Regions from separate parts of the Homo sapiens genome. Here region 2 is linked to region 1. The links are contacts of gene promoters, found by promoter capture Hi-C in blood cells and fetal thymus (Javierre and others, 2016). All regions are on one chromosome and are shown on one strand. Each heading gives the region's core, a stretch centred on a gene start or on the middle of the fragment in contact. The rest is flanking DNA. Distances are from core to core; before and after follow the strand shown. Region 1 holds the start of KIAA0753. Region 2 holds the start of PIMREG (PICALM interacting mitotic regulator).

Region 1 (3,324 bases), core at 289-2,788:
CTATTCGAAAAGAAAAAGTGATCATGAAAAAAATTTACTTGGTTTATTACAGTTTGCTTAATATTTGACATAGTCCTACATTTAATTTTTTAGTAATCACTGTTCTTGCAAACACTTAAAAAACCTTGCGGACTATGGCTTAATCTACTAATTACCCTGTGCAAAGTTTCAAAGTGTGACTAAGATATAAAAGTAAAGCCAGCTAAGTTCTGGGCTTACACCAGACCAAATTCGTTGAATTACCCTTACTTAATTCAGGTGGGCATTTTAAATTTGTATTTAATAGCTTCTAATTGTTTAACTTGTCAGACATTACCTTGTAAGACAAACTGGGTAAGTAAGTCCCTGAGGCCCTTCCCGCCTAAGTATGCAATTTGTGCACGTCTGCGAGGTAGATTATACATTGCCACTTACTAAGGCTTTTCTCCTACTTGGCAGTAGATGAACACACATCCTTCACTAATGTGCTTCAGCCCCTCTCGTACGACTGGTTCAGCTTTAAAAAAAGTTGAGATAAAATAATCGCACGTCAACTCTACAATCAGGCACGTATAAACTGTGTTCTTTCCCCCTTCCCCCAGTCTTGGTAAGCACTCAGACTTTAACCTGCAGCTAACTGAAGAGGTCAACACAAGTCAGGTGTTCCCTTCTGGTCTTAGAGCCACGTTAAGGGTAAGGACCAAATCCCAGTCCCGATTTGCCCCTGCACCACCGCGCCCGTAACAATGGAAAGCACATGTATTTGCTGACCAACTCACGTATCCTGTAAGACACTAATGGTACTGGGGGAGTGAGAAGTTTTAAGGAACTAGATTCCAAGATCATCCGGGTAAGGTGGTAAAAGGAAGAGCGCTCTTGGCAGGGCGGGGTAGGATTTAATAGAAGGAGACTTGGGGACAGCTCAGATTGCTCCGCGGATGTCTGGAACCAAGACTCTGCCTCCGCTAAGCCCCCCTTCTGGCCGTAGGCTCGACCTTCCTGCCATTTCCATTGGACAGCAGCCCCCGAATCCCGGCCTCACCCTGCACGCAGTCGGGGCACCAGCTTTTCCCCCCGGCGTCCTTAGAACCCGTAAAGTAGGCGAAAATGGTCTTGCCATTGTGCTGTTCCACGGCCCGGTGGAACTCCTCGAAGCCGGACACGCTCACCTCCTCATAGCGGGCCATTGGCACGACGTGCAGCCGCTACTGGAGGAGTGCACGTCCGGTCGCCGCGGTTGGGTCCCGCGTAGGCGGGGCGAGGCTGTTTCCGGGTGGGCAAGAGAGGGCGGAGCCTGCGGAAGCCAGCGCCGCTAAAGACTACGGGAGCCTCTGACGACCACAATCCATCCGCATGGCTTTTTGCTCTAGTTCCTCAGATCTTTCTGCGCTAGCTGCACTCCCAAGCCCAGGCTTAGATCTACCCTAATCTAGTCCCAGCCCCGACCTCATGGACACTGGCTGCAAAACTTACCGCCTTGCAACACCTGGATCCTTAAATAGTTCAGGGCCTCAAAGGCTCCCAAGCCGCCCTGCGCCTGTTGCTATGGCGACTGGGCAGGCGGCCGGAAGCGCGGCCTTGTTGGGGGCCCCCGTTGCCCGCCTCCCAGTAGCCGCGCCTCACCCTAGGCCAGGTGGGCTCGGGCCGGGGCTGGGGGGGATTCTGGGAAGCCGCATAGAGTCATGGACTTGGGGGAGAGGAGATCTGACTCGGAAAGCCTTTGTTGCTTTGTCCCCCCAGTTACCTTTTCTGCCGTCTAGGCTTTACGGGGGCCTGGGACTGGGGGCGGGTTCCCGAGACTGGGCGGGGGTGGGATGGGTGAGGGGCTCGGAGGGAGAAAGGCTGCAAGGCCGGAGCGGAGTGTGTGAGTGCGTGTGTGGAGCAGCTTAGGGAGCGAGGTGCTAAGACATCCCCCAGGGCCGCGGTAGGGAGGAAGGGAACTGCCCTGGAGCTATGAGCCGGGAGACTCGCCGTGGGGCCTTGCCCAGGCTGCGCCGGGGAGAGCAGGCGGCTAAGATGCCGGGTCGCTGCGTGGGGCCCAGCAGGTCGGGGCGGGGGGTTCGGCGGCCGTGGGGGAAGAGACGGGGCGCAGGGACGTCCCGAGGCCGTGGAGCAAGGCGCCGGGCGAAGCCCTCGGAGTGGGAGACGCGCTGTGTGAGTGCAGAAAGGCCACAGGGCCGTCAGCGGCCATGGGGGACGAGACAAGCGGCGGAGACAGCCGACGCCGCCGGGGCGAATGAGGCTTTGGGAGCTCCTGGGACCCCAGGCTCCATCGAGGCTGCAAGGGACCCTGGGGCTGTGTGGGTGAACGGGGCTGTGGGGGAGCCCGAGGTGGTGGGGCTTGCCGGGGCTGTGTGGGTGACCGGGTCTGGGGAGGAGGAGACCGAAGATAGAAGTCCCCGGGGCTGCGAGAGAAAAGGTCGCCCGGGATCTCTGGGCCATGAGAGCATTCTGCACCTGTGGCTGAAGGTGCAGGCTATGAGGGCCGCCTCGGGATGTGGGGAAGGAAGTAGAGTCGAGCTCCATCCCGTGCCTGCAGGAGAGGGACCTGTCGAAAGGGGTGTTCCTGGCCGAGCTTCCTGGGTAGAGACAAGCCGCGGCGGTCTTACAGGGCCCTGGGTGAAGGAACAGGCAAGGGGGATCCCTCGGGCCCCCTCAGGGCCCACAGCTCTGGGCTTAGGGGCAGCTTACGAGAGAGCCTTAGGCTTCTGTGGACAGGGACAGGCTGGGAGGGTGCCTCCTGCGAGTGTGCCTGGGGCTTTGGCGTCAAGTTCTGAAATGGCCCCGCACCTGTGGAGGGGAGAAGCTGTGGGGGTTCCTGAGACTGGGGAGGAGATAGGCTATGGGTTTGTCTCAGGCCCTTGTGAAAAAGAACAGACTATGGGCGAGCCTGGGACCGTGGGGTGGACTGGGGCTGTGGGAGCGCCCAGAGCCATGGAGGGAGAGCTCGGCTGTGGCGGTGCTGCAGGTCTGTGGGGGAGAGGACAGTCCCCGCAGATTCCTGGGGCTCTGACACATGAAGCAGTCTGTGGGGCCACCCCTGGCGTATGGGGGAGGGGACAGGCTGTGGGGGTGTCCGATGCTGTGGAGGAGGAGCCTACTTCTGTGGGTGCCGCAGGTGTGTGTTACAGGAGACAGGCTGTGGAGGAGACAGACTCTGTGGGTATGCCCGGCCCGTGGGGCACAGGATACTCTGTTGGGGTGCCCTGTGCTGCTGAAGAGGAAACTAGATGTGGAGGTGACCCAGGGTTCAGGGAAAGGGGACAGCCTGTGTGGGTGGAGACAGGCTCTGGGGGTGATCCAGGGTCACGGGGAGCTGCGCAGACTGCAGAGTCATCATGTCCT
Region 2 (3,324 bases), core at 182-2,681, 200 kb after region 1:
TACCCAGACTACAATTCTGGCTCTCCTCAGGGATACACAGCTGAGTGGGCAGTACACCTTGCTTTCCCTCAGCTCTAGGCCTGGACTTGCACTATTTCCCCTACCCTAAATACCCCTTGACCTTTGCTTCCCTGGGTGAACTCTGGAATCACCTCCTCTGGGAAGCCTTCACCGACTAAGCTTGCATTTGGTGAGCCTCACTATTGGTCACTTGCTTTGCAATTTCCTATCACGTACAGCTCTTATCACCTGGTATTGTGAGCATCTGTTTCCTCCAAGACATGCTTTCATTCACTCATTCAACTATTTGTTGAGCACCTATATGTGCCAGGAACTATCTGGGGTGGTGGGGAAACAGCAGTGAACTAACCAACGTCCCTGTTTTCATGAAGTCTATATTCTTGAGGCTCTTTGAGGGCAGGAACTGCCTGGCACCAAGGAAACACTCCATAAAAAAGATGATTAGTGTTGTCAGTATTACCTGGGACACGGCACCCAAAGCACTCTTAGCTGAGCGAGCTGCAGCCTGGAGGCCCTGCTGACCTGGCTCTGGGGTTTCCAGGCGTTTCCAGGAGGGCCCTGCGCGGAGGTTGAGGTTGACGGCTCTCAGGGGCAGCCTCCTTTGGAACTGTCTGCACAGGGACCCCAGGGCCCCTACAGAGGTCTCCTGATGGCTGACCACAGGCTGCAGCTCCTTGCTGTCCTCCAGCTGCTCCTGGTGCTGGAGAGATCTCCGGCGCACGGAGGTCCCCATGTTCTGCCACCGAGAAGCCATCTGCCTGGCCAAGAGTCTTCTCTGTCCACTAGACCCTGGGGAGGAGGGCGAAAGGCAGATCAGCAAGGCATTCCCCATACCCATTCCCAGGCCCCACAGAGACCCTGGACACAGGGGAAGAGACGGGATGCAGCGGGGTGGCGGGGGCGGGCGAGTTGGTAAGTGTGGGTGCAGGAAGGAGGATGCTTCCTGGAAGAGGGGCCTCGGGTCAGCAGCATTTCTGATGTCCCGCCCTTCAAGTTTCCAAAACAGCTGTCTTTTCATCCCAACCTCCTTCCTCTCTCTGGCTCAGGCGAGGAGGGGAGGCAGGGTCAAGACACGCCGTAGCCGAGCTTCAGCGCTGGGCCCAGGACACGATCACCATCTTCTTCACCAGCTCGCCCAGACCAAACGCGCACCCGCCCAGACCCCGGCCTTCCCACCAGACGCCCCGATTTCGATCCGACTTCTTGTGGTACCCAGACGACCCCACAGGCCGTGCGTGTCCGAACCTGATGCCCTCCCCTGTGAACAGAACCTGATGCCCTCCCCTCCGAACAAAAAAATTGTTTTGAGTCCAGATCGCGCCATTGCACTCCAGCCTGGGCAACAAGGGCGAAACTTGTGCCCAGCCCGCACTCACCCGACACCACTAAGGCCGAGCACAGCCGCAGCACAGCTGCTCCTCGCCCACCGCAGCCGATTTGAAACTCTGCGCGGCTCCGCCCCCGGCCCCGTCCTCACAGCTGATTGGTTCCGTCCCCGCCCCCGCCACCGCCACCGCCCCGGGGATCCGATTGGCTCCCTCTCTCGCGGCTGCAAATGCTGCGCTTGGATTGGCCCGGCCGTGCCCATTCATCGCTCCGGCCCCCGCCCCGCCGCCAGCCTCGTGGCTCCGGGCTTTGTATCCTGCGTCCCGCTCGCGCCACTGCCCTTGCTAGCCCAGCCCCCGCGCATCGCACACCGGGTCCCCTCCCTGGAGCGCGCACAGGGTTCAGGCTGCTCTGACCCATGGGGTGGAGGCGGAGGTCCTGGGACCTAGGCCTCCTGGCTCAGGCCCCAGGCCCCAGGCCCGGCAGCGGGCAGAGACCCCTCTCATCCTGCCAAGGGGTCTGGCTTTTCCTTCTTGCTCAGTGGTTTTGTCAGAAGGAGCCAGGGACTGGCAGTGCAGAGCCCTGGGTTCCCAGAGACGTTTTCTTTCAAATTTCCCTCCTGACCCTCCCTTCCTGTGACAAGACACTGTCCCTCTCTGAGTTCCCCATACTCGCCATCCACGCTCCGCCCTCCCTAGAAAACGCGTCCCGGAAGCGGGGATAGACCAGAGTACCGGTCTGCCCTCCACCCGTCTACACCGGCTCCCCGCCCCCGCCTTGCCCCACGCATCCCTCCCTCTCTCCAGCGGAATGCCTGCCTCTCTTCTCCTTAGCATCCAAACAAATGCAGCCATTATAAAGCTCTCTCCAGCTCATCTTTCTCCTTTCGGTGACCTCAGAGCAGTGCTGCCCACTCCCCCGGCTGGTTTCTTTGTTACTTCTCCGCACAAGAGCCTGAGATGATGGCTTCTTGAGACTCTGTCTTCAGCCCTCTCCGTTTCTGGGTGGTCTCACCCACTCCTTTGGCCTCAGTGATTTCCAAGGAAAGGATGATGATAATGATTAACGTGTATATGGCACTTAGTATGCACAGGTACCGGTGTTGCAGTTTATTAACTTACTTGATCCTCTGCTATGGTTTGAATGTGTCCCTCAAATTTCACATGTTGGAAATGTAATGCCCAAATTCATATATCGGTGGCATTTTTTGTTTGTTTTTGAGACGGAATTTCACTCTTGTTGCCCAGGCTGGAGTGCAATGGCATGATCTCGGCTCACTGCAACCTCCGCCTCCCAGGTTCAAGCGATTCTCCTGCCTCAGCCTCCCTAGTAGCTGGGATTACAGGTGCCTGCCACCACGCCTAGCTAATTTTTTGTATTTTTAGTAGAGATGGGGTTTCACTATGTTGGCCAGGCTGGTCTCGAACTCCTGACCTTAGGCAATCCACCCGCCTCAGCCTCCCAAACTGCTGGGATTACAGACGTGAGCCACCGTTCCTGGCTATCGGTGGCATTTTTTAAGACATATAAATTGTTATTTATTCAAATTATAGAATATTATACAGCACTGAAAAATAAGCAAATTGTAGCCAGATGGTGTAACTTAAGTCAATCTCAGAAATATGTTAGATTAAAAAAAAGCAATATGCAGACAAACATAAAGTATGACACTGTATAAATTCAAACGCAAAAAAGCTCAACAATATGGTTTAGGAATATGCACATACATTTGTGGACAAAGCTATTATGGAAAGCAAAGGAATTGAAACACCAAAATAAAATAAGTCGTCGTTTTTGGAAGGGTGGCAGGAGAAGAGGATGTAATGAGGAAAGGGCTCAAAGGACTTCAAAGATAATGTTCCATTTTGTAGGCTGGGTGGTGGCCACATGGATGTTTACTTTCTTCTTTTTTATTTTTTTTCTTTTAGACAGGATCTTGCTCTGTTGTCCAGGCTGAGGTGCAGTGGTACAATCATA

The links. The method cuts DNA at HindIII sites, captures the fragments that hold promoters and counts their contacts. A CHiCAGO score of 5 or more calls a contact.
Region 2: the fragment with the promoter of PIMREG here is called in contact with the fragment with the promoter of KIAA0753 in region 1 in 2 of 17 cell types (M0 macrophages and M1 macrophages); the score reaches 6.4 in M0 macrophages.

Annotation. Positions count from the first base shown.
Region 1 is chr17:6,638,925-6,642,248 of GRCh38, reverse strand. It overlaps KIAA0753, which reads left to right and starts at 1,538. Exons shown (of 19, transcript NM_014804.3): 1 at 1,538-1,612. It overlaps TXNDC17 (thioredoxin domain containing 17), which reads right to left and starts at 1,189. Exons shown (of 4, transcript NM_032731.4): 1 at 1,022-1,189; 2 at 415-496. The coding sequence starts at 1,166. It overlaps LOC122526780, which reads left to right and starts at 1,933. Exons shown (of 1, transcript NM_001396008.1): 1 at 1,933-3,324. The coding sequence starts at 1,933. RefSeq lists enhancers at 470-529, 730-999, 1,130-2,011, 2,910-2,979. The HindIII fragment of the contact is 13,898 bases long and covers 1-3,324 here.
Region 2 is chr17:6,442,562-6,445,885 of GRCh38, reverse strand. It overlaps PIMREG (PICALM interacting mitotic regulator), which reads right to left and starts at 1,431. Exons shown (of 6, transcript NM_019013.3): 1 at 1,398-1,431; 2 at 482-810. The coding sequence starts at 775. The region is part of intron 2 of LOC107985017 (a long non-coding RNA gene); the gene reads left to right. RefSeq lists silencers at 1,182-1,409, 1,492-1,741, 1,972-2,121 and an enhancer at 1,473-2,051. The HindIII fragment of the contact is 3,587 bases long and covers 183-3,324 here.